Linked DNA regions of Homo sapiens: region 2 is linked to region 1. The links are contacts of gene promoters, found by promoter capture Hi-C in human tissues and cell types (Jung and others, 2019). All regions are on one chromosome and are shown on one strand. The core of a region is centred on a gene start or on the middle of the fragment in contact, and the rest is flanking DNA. Distances in the headings are between cores, read along the strand shown. Region 1 holds the start of UGT2B15 (UDP glucuronosyltransferase family 2 member B15). Region 2 has its middle 45 kb from the start of UGT2B17.

Region 1 (3,787 bases), core at 852-3,351:
ATCCCCATGTGTCCAGGGAGGGACCCAGTGGCAGGTGATTGGATCATGGTGTGGATTCCTCCATGCTGTTCTCATGATATTGAGTGAGCTCTCATGAGATCTGATAGTTTTATAAGTGTCTAGTATTTCCCCTGCTTGCACTTCTCTCTCCTGCCACTAAGTGAGAAGATCCAAGCTTGCTTCCCCTTAGCCTTTCACCATGATTCTAAGTTTCTTGAGGCATCCCAGTCATGTAGAACTGAGTCTATTAAACTTCTTTTCTTTATAAATTACCCAGTCTCAGGTATTTCTTTACAGCAGTGTGAGAATGGACTAATGTAGCCACTATGAACTTAAATACACATTTGTCTTCCCTCTGAAGCTGCAATAGTAACAAATATACCTTTAAACAACTCTTTCAGTTCCACAATTAATTCATCTTACCTTACCCATGAAAACAGCTTTCCAGGAAGTACTCTAGTGTCTACAGTTTATTAAGCTAGTCCCTTGATCCTTGGTTCTCAAAGTAAACCATGAGTTTTTTGAGCTCAACACTGAAATCTTTACACCTACTACTGTCTTGGTTCATCTTAAGATCTTAATATAATTAGATTTTTAAAATAAATATATTTACAAATGAGAATTAAAACATTTTCAGAATTTATTGACATAGAGATATGTGCTCTCCCTTAATTTGGCCCCTATTTTCTTTGATGGAGAGATGCAGTTTAATAAAATATAGATTAAAACTTAGATGTTCACTTTCAACAAGATTTCAGTTTTTGAAAGAAATAATTGTCAACCTGTTATTGAAGGAATGTATAAACATTAGAAATCTCAAGTTTTAGGCTTCTGTTTCTGGAGTAGAGCCACTATATTACTCAACTGTGAAGGAATCCTTCTTACATGAAAAACAAAATTTAATTTCTAAATGAGGAAACTGAGGAACTCAAAGAGAAACAAATTCCTCAATCCTGCATTGATAATTTTTCTAGAAATATGTGTAAATACTAAATTTATGTGTCTGCCTTCATGAAGATGTTTCTTGAGGTATCTATTGACTTTTTTTAAAGATGAAAAAATGTATAGCAAAATGATATGTGATAGTTTAAAGAAATCATTAGTGCTTTACAATGAAGGTTTATGACTCTCTGGGTGTCCTGTAGTAGTGATGGCCCCAGGGTTCTAACTGATTCTATAAGGTCAACATTCTATAATATTTTTGAGACTGATAGATCATCTTACATTTGCAATTCATAATTTCCCTTAAAAACACTATCTTCTGACATTATATTTATATAAGCTCACCTTCAAAGGCACAGAAAAGTTAGAACTTAATAAGCACCAGTTAGACACATGACTTACCTAGAACTTCACTATAAAACTGGTCCCACTTCTTCAGATCATAAATTTGAAACCAAAAGTCAAAATAAAGCATATGTATCATATTTTTTATCCTCTCCATGAAAATCATTTGATCACTTAATTCTGACATAACAACAGGTACATAGGAAGGAGGGAACAGAAATCCTCCACCATTCTTCTCAAATGTGTAGCCAACAGAGAATCGAAGACTGTACAGAAAGGGTATGTTAAATAGTTCAGCCAGTAGCTCACCACAGGGATTAAGGGCATCTGCCAGAATGACATCAAACTTTGACTCTTGTAGTTTCATCATAAGTTTCTTATTCAAAACTGCATCTTTACAGAGCTTGTTACTGTAGTCATAATATTCCCAACACAATTCTTGTAATTGTGAAAAATATGACCAAAATGTATTTTTTGAAACACCATATATCCATCTATCGAGAATTTTCAGAAGAGAATCTTCCAAATAATTTTTAGTTAAAGATGTAGGATAAACTTCTAATTTAATAGCAGATGATTTACTGGCATTGACAAGAGTAGAAGCCGAAGATGTCAACACAGTCACCTCATGACCCCTCTGAACAAGCTCTTCCAGGATTGTCTTCATATTTATCCAATGGCTGTATTCTGTGGGCCACACTAGCACCTTTCCACAGCTTCCAGAGCTAAAGTAACAACTGAGCTGTATCAGCAGAAAGACTGACGTCCATTTCAGAGACATCCTGGTCTTATGCAATGCTTCTTTTCCAGTTGTTGTTTCTTTCTGTCATTTCTCATACTTATATCTGAGGAAAAATCAATCAAGTTAAAATATAACTGCTAAAATTTGAAGTAAATACATAATACTAACAGTCTGAATAGGTGCATGCCAAGGAGACCAACAAAAGATTGATGACCTCATATTTATTTTAGTGTGTTTGGTGTTCTTTTATGTTTACAATTACTCTAGTCAAGCAATAATTTTTATGACCTAGAATATGTAAGTAACCTGTCTTATGTAATTATTTTATAATACTGTTAAGAACAGTGGCAAGTGAGAGGCTCCTGCCTGTTCGGTGCCCTTGACATAGAGAGAAGAAGTAATTATACAACTCAAACGGCATTTTTTAATATCGTGGTGCAAGTAATGTCTTCTAAAACTTTGTTGACACATAATTCATATACCATATGACTCACCAATTAGTGTGTACAGTTCAATGTTTCCTAGTATATTCACAGAATTTTACATCCACTACAATAATCAGTATTATCTCCAAAAGATTCTATACAATAGCCTCTAACCCCCCACTCTGAAATTTTGCATCCATCCTACCCTAGGCAACCACTAATCTAATTTCTATCTCTATAGATTAGCATTTTCTGGACCCTTTAAAAAATAAATGAGGGTTTTCCAGTGATCATGGCAGATGGGATGCAGGACTAGATTGCAGCTCCAGACAGAGCAGCATGCAGAGGCTTGCATTGTGAATTTTAGCTGCAGATCAACTGCAAGAACAGACCAGCAATTCTGAGAGGATCCACACACCCTCTGCAGGAAGAGTACTGCTCCTGCAGGACCTGGGAGACATCCCAAACACTGTGAGTGCCCCAACAATGGAAGTGGGAAAGGGTGATCCCCCTCTCCAGAATACACATCCCCACTGGAGAAGCTGAAGTTCTGTTTGCAGGAGAAGTTCCTGACTTTATGTGAAGCTGAGTCAAATTAGAGAACCAAGCCAAGCAAAATACAGGGGTAGAGGAAGTAGCAGAAAGGCACTGGGAGCTCTCTGGATACCCAAGCGGCTCATTCCTGCCTGGCATCACAGGGATCTATCAGGAGGGTGGCCAGTGATGCAGGGGGTTCAAAGATTCTCCTCAGGACCTGAAGGCTTGAAGGGATGAGTAACTCCTCCCTTCTCAGGCCCAGCCCCAAGATGCAAGACCACTTGCATCAGCAGCGTGTGTCAGCAAGATAGCAGAAGCAGGAAGAGAGCCGGCCAGAAGACACTTACCCTGGCTGGAAGAGATGTACCCCTGAAGATCAAGAAATAGGCCATCCAGGTACTACATAGCAGTCACAACAGACTGGGACACTTACTGTTTACAGAGGACTACAAAACCCCTGTCCCATCCTCACTTGGGGCTGATGCCATTTTAGGCCTCAGCCCACCTGCAACCAGGCGTTCATTAAAACAGCATGTTGCTCCACACCGCCTCCTGTTGTCTGTTGGCGCGCTGTTGGGGTTCAAACTGATTCAAGAACCTTACATCTGGTGCCAAATCCTAGGAGGGGCTCAGGTCTGTGTCGCTTGTGGACCTATCCCTCCACCCCAGAGAGCAGGCCACAGCAATTAGACAGAGGAAGCTCCTCAGCCTCCAGTCGCCTCTCTGTGCATGCGCATCAGCCACTGATCTCGCCTACTGGTAAGTTTCCCTTGGAGCCCGGTTAACAGGGCAAAAT
Region 2 (3,818 bases), core at 1,016-3,515, 49 kb before region 1:
GCAACAGAACAAAGCTGGACAGAGAATGACTTTGACGAGTTGATAGAAGTAGGCTTCAGAAGGTCGTTAATAACAAACTTCTCTAAGCTAAAGGAGCATGTTCAAACCCATTGCAAGGAAGCTAAAAACCTTGAAAAAAAGGTTAGACAAATGGATAGTTAGAATAAACAGTGTAGAGAAGACCTTAAATGACCTGATGGAGCTGAAAACCATGGCACGAGAACTTCGTGATGCATGCACAAGGTTCAATAGCTGAATCAATCAAGTGGAAGAAAGGGTATCAATGACTGAAGATCAAATTTATGAAATAATTGTGAGAAGACAAGGTAAGAGAAAAAAGAAGAAAAAGAAATGAACAAAGCCTGCAAGAAATACAGGATTGTGTGAAGAGGCCAAATATACATTAGATTGGTGTACCTGAAAGTGATAGGGAGAATGGAACCAAGTTGGAAAACACTCTTCAGTTTATTATCCAGGAGAACTTCCCCAACCTAGCAAGGCAGGCCAACATTCAAATTCAAGAAGTACAGAGAACACCATAAAGATAATCCTCGAGAAGAGCAAACCCAAGGCACATAATTGTCAGGTTCACCAAGGTTGAAATGCAGGAAAAAATGTTAAGGGCAGCCAGAGAGAAAGATCGGGTTACCCACAAAGGGAAGCCCATCAGACTAACAGCAGCTCTCTCAGCAGAAACTCTACAAGCCAGAAGAGGGTGGGGGTCAATATTCAACATTCTTAAAGAAAAGAATTTTCAACCCAGAATTTCATATCCAGCCAAACTAAGCTTCATAAGTGAAGGAGAAATAAAATCCTTTACAGACAAGCAAATACTGAGAGATCTTGTCACCACCAGAACTGCCTTAAAAGAGCTCCTGAAGGAAGCACTAAATATGGAAAGGAACAACTGGTACTAGCCACTGCAAAAACATGCCAAATTGTAAAGACCATTGATGTTAGGAAGAAACTGCATCAACTAACAGGCAAAATAACCAGCTAACATCACAATGACAGGATCAAATTCACACATAACAATATTAACCTTAAAGGTAAATTGGCTAAATGCCCCAGTTAAAAGACAAAGACCGGCAAATTGAATAGAGTCCAGACCCATCAGTGTGCTATATTCAGGAGACCCATCTCACGTGCAGAGACACACATAGGCTCAAATAAAGGGTTGGAGGAAGATCTAACAACCAAACGGAAAACAAAAAAAAGCAGGGGTTGTAATCCTAGTCTCTGATAAAACAGACTTTAAATCAACAAAGATCAGGAGACAAAGAAAGCCATTACATAATGATAAAGGGATCAATTCAACAAGAAGAGATAACTATTCTAAATATATATGCACTGAATACAGGAGCACCCAGATTCATAAGGCAAGTCCTTGGAGACCTACAAAGAGACTTAGGCTCCCACACGATAGTAAAGGGAGACTTTAACACCCCACTGTCAATATTAGACACATCCATGAAACAGAAGGTTAACAAGGATATCCAGGACTTGAACTCAGCTCTGCAACGAGCAGACCTAATAGACATCTACAGAACTCTCCACCCAAAAGTCAACAGAATATGCATTCTTCTTGGAACCACATCACACTTGTTCCAAAACTGACCACATAGTTGGAAGTAAAGCCCTCCACAACAAATGTAAAAGAACAGAAATAACAACAAACTGTCTCTCAGACCACAGTACACTGAAATTAGAACTCAGGATTAAGAAACTCACTCAAAACCACACAACTACATGGAAACTCAACAACCTGCTCCTGCATGACTACTGTGTAAATAACAAAATGCAGGCAGAAGTAAAGATGTTCTTTGACACCAATGAGAACAAAGACACAATATACCATAATCTCTGGGACACCTTTAAAGCAGTGTGTAGAAGGAAATTTATAGTACTAAATGCCCACAAAAGAAAGCAAGAAAAATCTAAAATCAACACCCTAACATCACAATTAAAAGAACTAGAGAAGCAAGAGTAAACACATTCAAAAGCTAGCAGAAGGCAAGCAATACCTAAGATTAGAACAGAACTGAAGGAGATAGAGACACACAAAAAAACCCTTCAAAAAAATCAATGAATCCAGGAGCTGGTTTTTTGAAAAGATCAACAGCAAGTATTGTAGAACAGCAAACATTGCTGCCTGATCCTTCCTCTGGAAGCTTCATCTCAGAGGGGCACCTGGCTGCATGAGGTGTCAGTTGGCCCCTACTCAGAAGTGTCTCCCAGTTAGGCTACCCAGGGGCCAGAGACCCACTTGAGGAGGCAGTCTGTCCATTTCAGAGCTCAAACACCATGGTGGGAGAACCACTGCTCTCTTCAGAGCTGTCAGACAGGGATGTTTAAGTCTGCAGAAGCTTCTGCTGCCTTTTGTTCAGCTATGCCCTGCCAGCAAAGGTGGAGTCTACAGAGGTAGGCAGGCCTCCTTGAGCTGTGGTGGGCTCCACCCAGTTCAAGCGTCCTGGCTGCTTTGTTTACCTACTCAAGCCTCAGCAATGGCGAATGCCCCTCCCCCAGCCAGTCTGCCTCCTTGCAGTTGGATCTTGGACTGCTGTGCTAGCAGTGAGCAAGGCTCCATGGGCATGGGACCCACTGAGCCAGGCATGGGATGTAATCTCCTGGGTGTGTCATTTGCTGAGACCATTGGAAAAGTGCAGTATTAAGGTGGGAGTGTCCTGATTTTCCTGGTAGAGTCTGTCATGGCTTCCCCTGGCTAGGAAAGGGAAATCCCCCAACCCCTTGCACCTCCGGGGTGAGGCGATGCCCCGCCCAGCTTCAGCCTGCCTTCCGTGGGCTGCACCCACTGTCCAACCAGTCCCAGTGAGATGAACCAGGTACCTCAGTTGAAAATGCAGAAATCACCCATCTTCTGCATTGATCATGCTGGGAGCTGCAGACCAGAGCCGTTCCTGTTCAGCCATCTTGGTTCATCACTATAGACACGTTACAAAGGAAGATATACAAGCAGCCAACAAGCATATGAACAAAAAGGTCAATATCACTGATCATTAGGGAAATGCAAATTGTAACCACAGTGAGATACCACTGATCATTAGATAAATGCAAATCAAAACCACAGTGAGATACTATTTCACACAAGTAAGAGTGGCTATAATTAGTCAAAAAATAGCAGATACTGGTGAGGTTGCAGAGCAAAGGGAACATTTATACACTGTTGGTGGAAGTATAAATTAGTTCAACCATTGTGGAAAGAGGTGTGGTGATTACTCAAAAAGCTAAAAGCAGAACTACCATTTGACCCAGCAGTCCTATTACTGGATATATGCCCAAAGGAATATGTATCATTCTACCATAAAGACACATGTACATTTATGTTCATTGCAGCACTGTTCACAATAGGAAAGATATGGAATCACCTAAATGCCCATCAGTGGTAGACTGGATAAAGAATATATGGTACATATACACCATGGAATACTATGCAGCCATAAAAAAGACTGAGATCATGTACTTTGCAGGCACATGGATGGAGCTGGAGACCATCATCCTTAGCAAACTAACACAGGAACAGAAAACCAAATGCTGCATGTACTCACTTATGAGGAGGAGCTAACTGATGAGAACACATGGATGCAAAGAGACAACAGACACTGGGGTCTACTTGAGGGTGGAGGGTTGGGGAGAAGAATAGGATCAGAAAAAATAACTATTGGGTCCTAGGCTTTGTACCTGGGTGATGAAGTAGTCTGCACAGCAAACTCCCGTGACAGGAGATCAGCTATATTAGAAGCCTGCACTTTTACCCCTGAACCTAAACTATAAGTTAAAAAAAAAAAACTTAATAAAGA

The links. The method cuts DNA at HindIII sites, captures the fragments that hold promoters and counts their contacts. A contact is called where the count stands out against the background at its distance.
Region 2: a contact is called between a fragment that was not itself captured here and the fragment with the promoter of UGT2B15 in region 1, in 2 of the 25 tissues and cell types used here (dorsolateral prefrontal cortex and mesenchymal stem cells).

Annotation. Positions count from the first base shown.
Region 1 is chr4:68,668,551-68,672,337 of GRCh38, forward strand. UGT2B15 (UDP glucuronosyltransferase family 2 member B15) reads right to left here and starts at 2,102. Exons shown (of 6, transcript NM_001076.4): 1 at 1,345-2,102. The coding sequence starts at 2,068. The HindIII fragment of the contact is 11,998 bases long and covers 1-3,787 here.
Region 2 is chr4:68,619,875-68,623,692 of GRCh38, forward strand. No RefSeq gene overlaps it. Among named protein-coding and RNA genes, the nearest start is that of UGT2B17, 45 kb to the left of the region's middle. The HindIII fragment of the contact is 5,524 bases long and covers 1-3,818 here.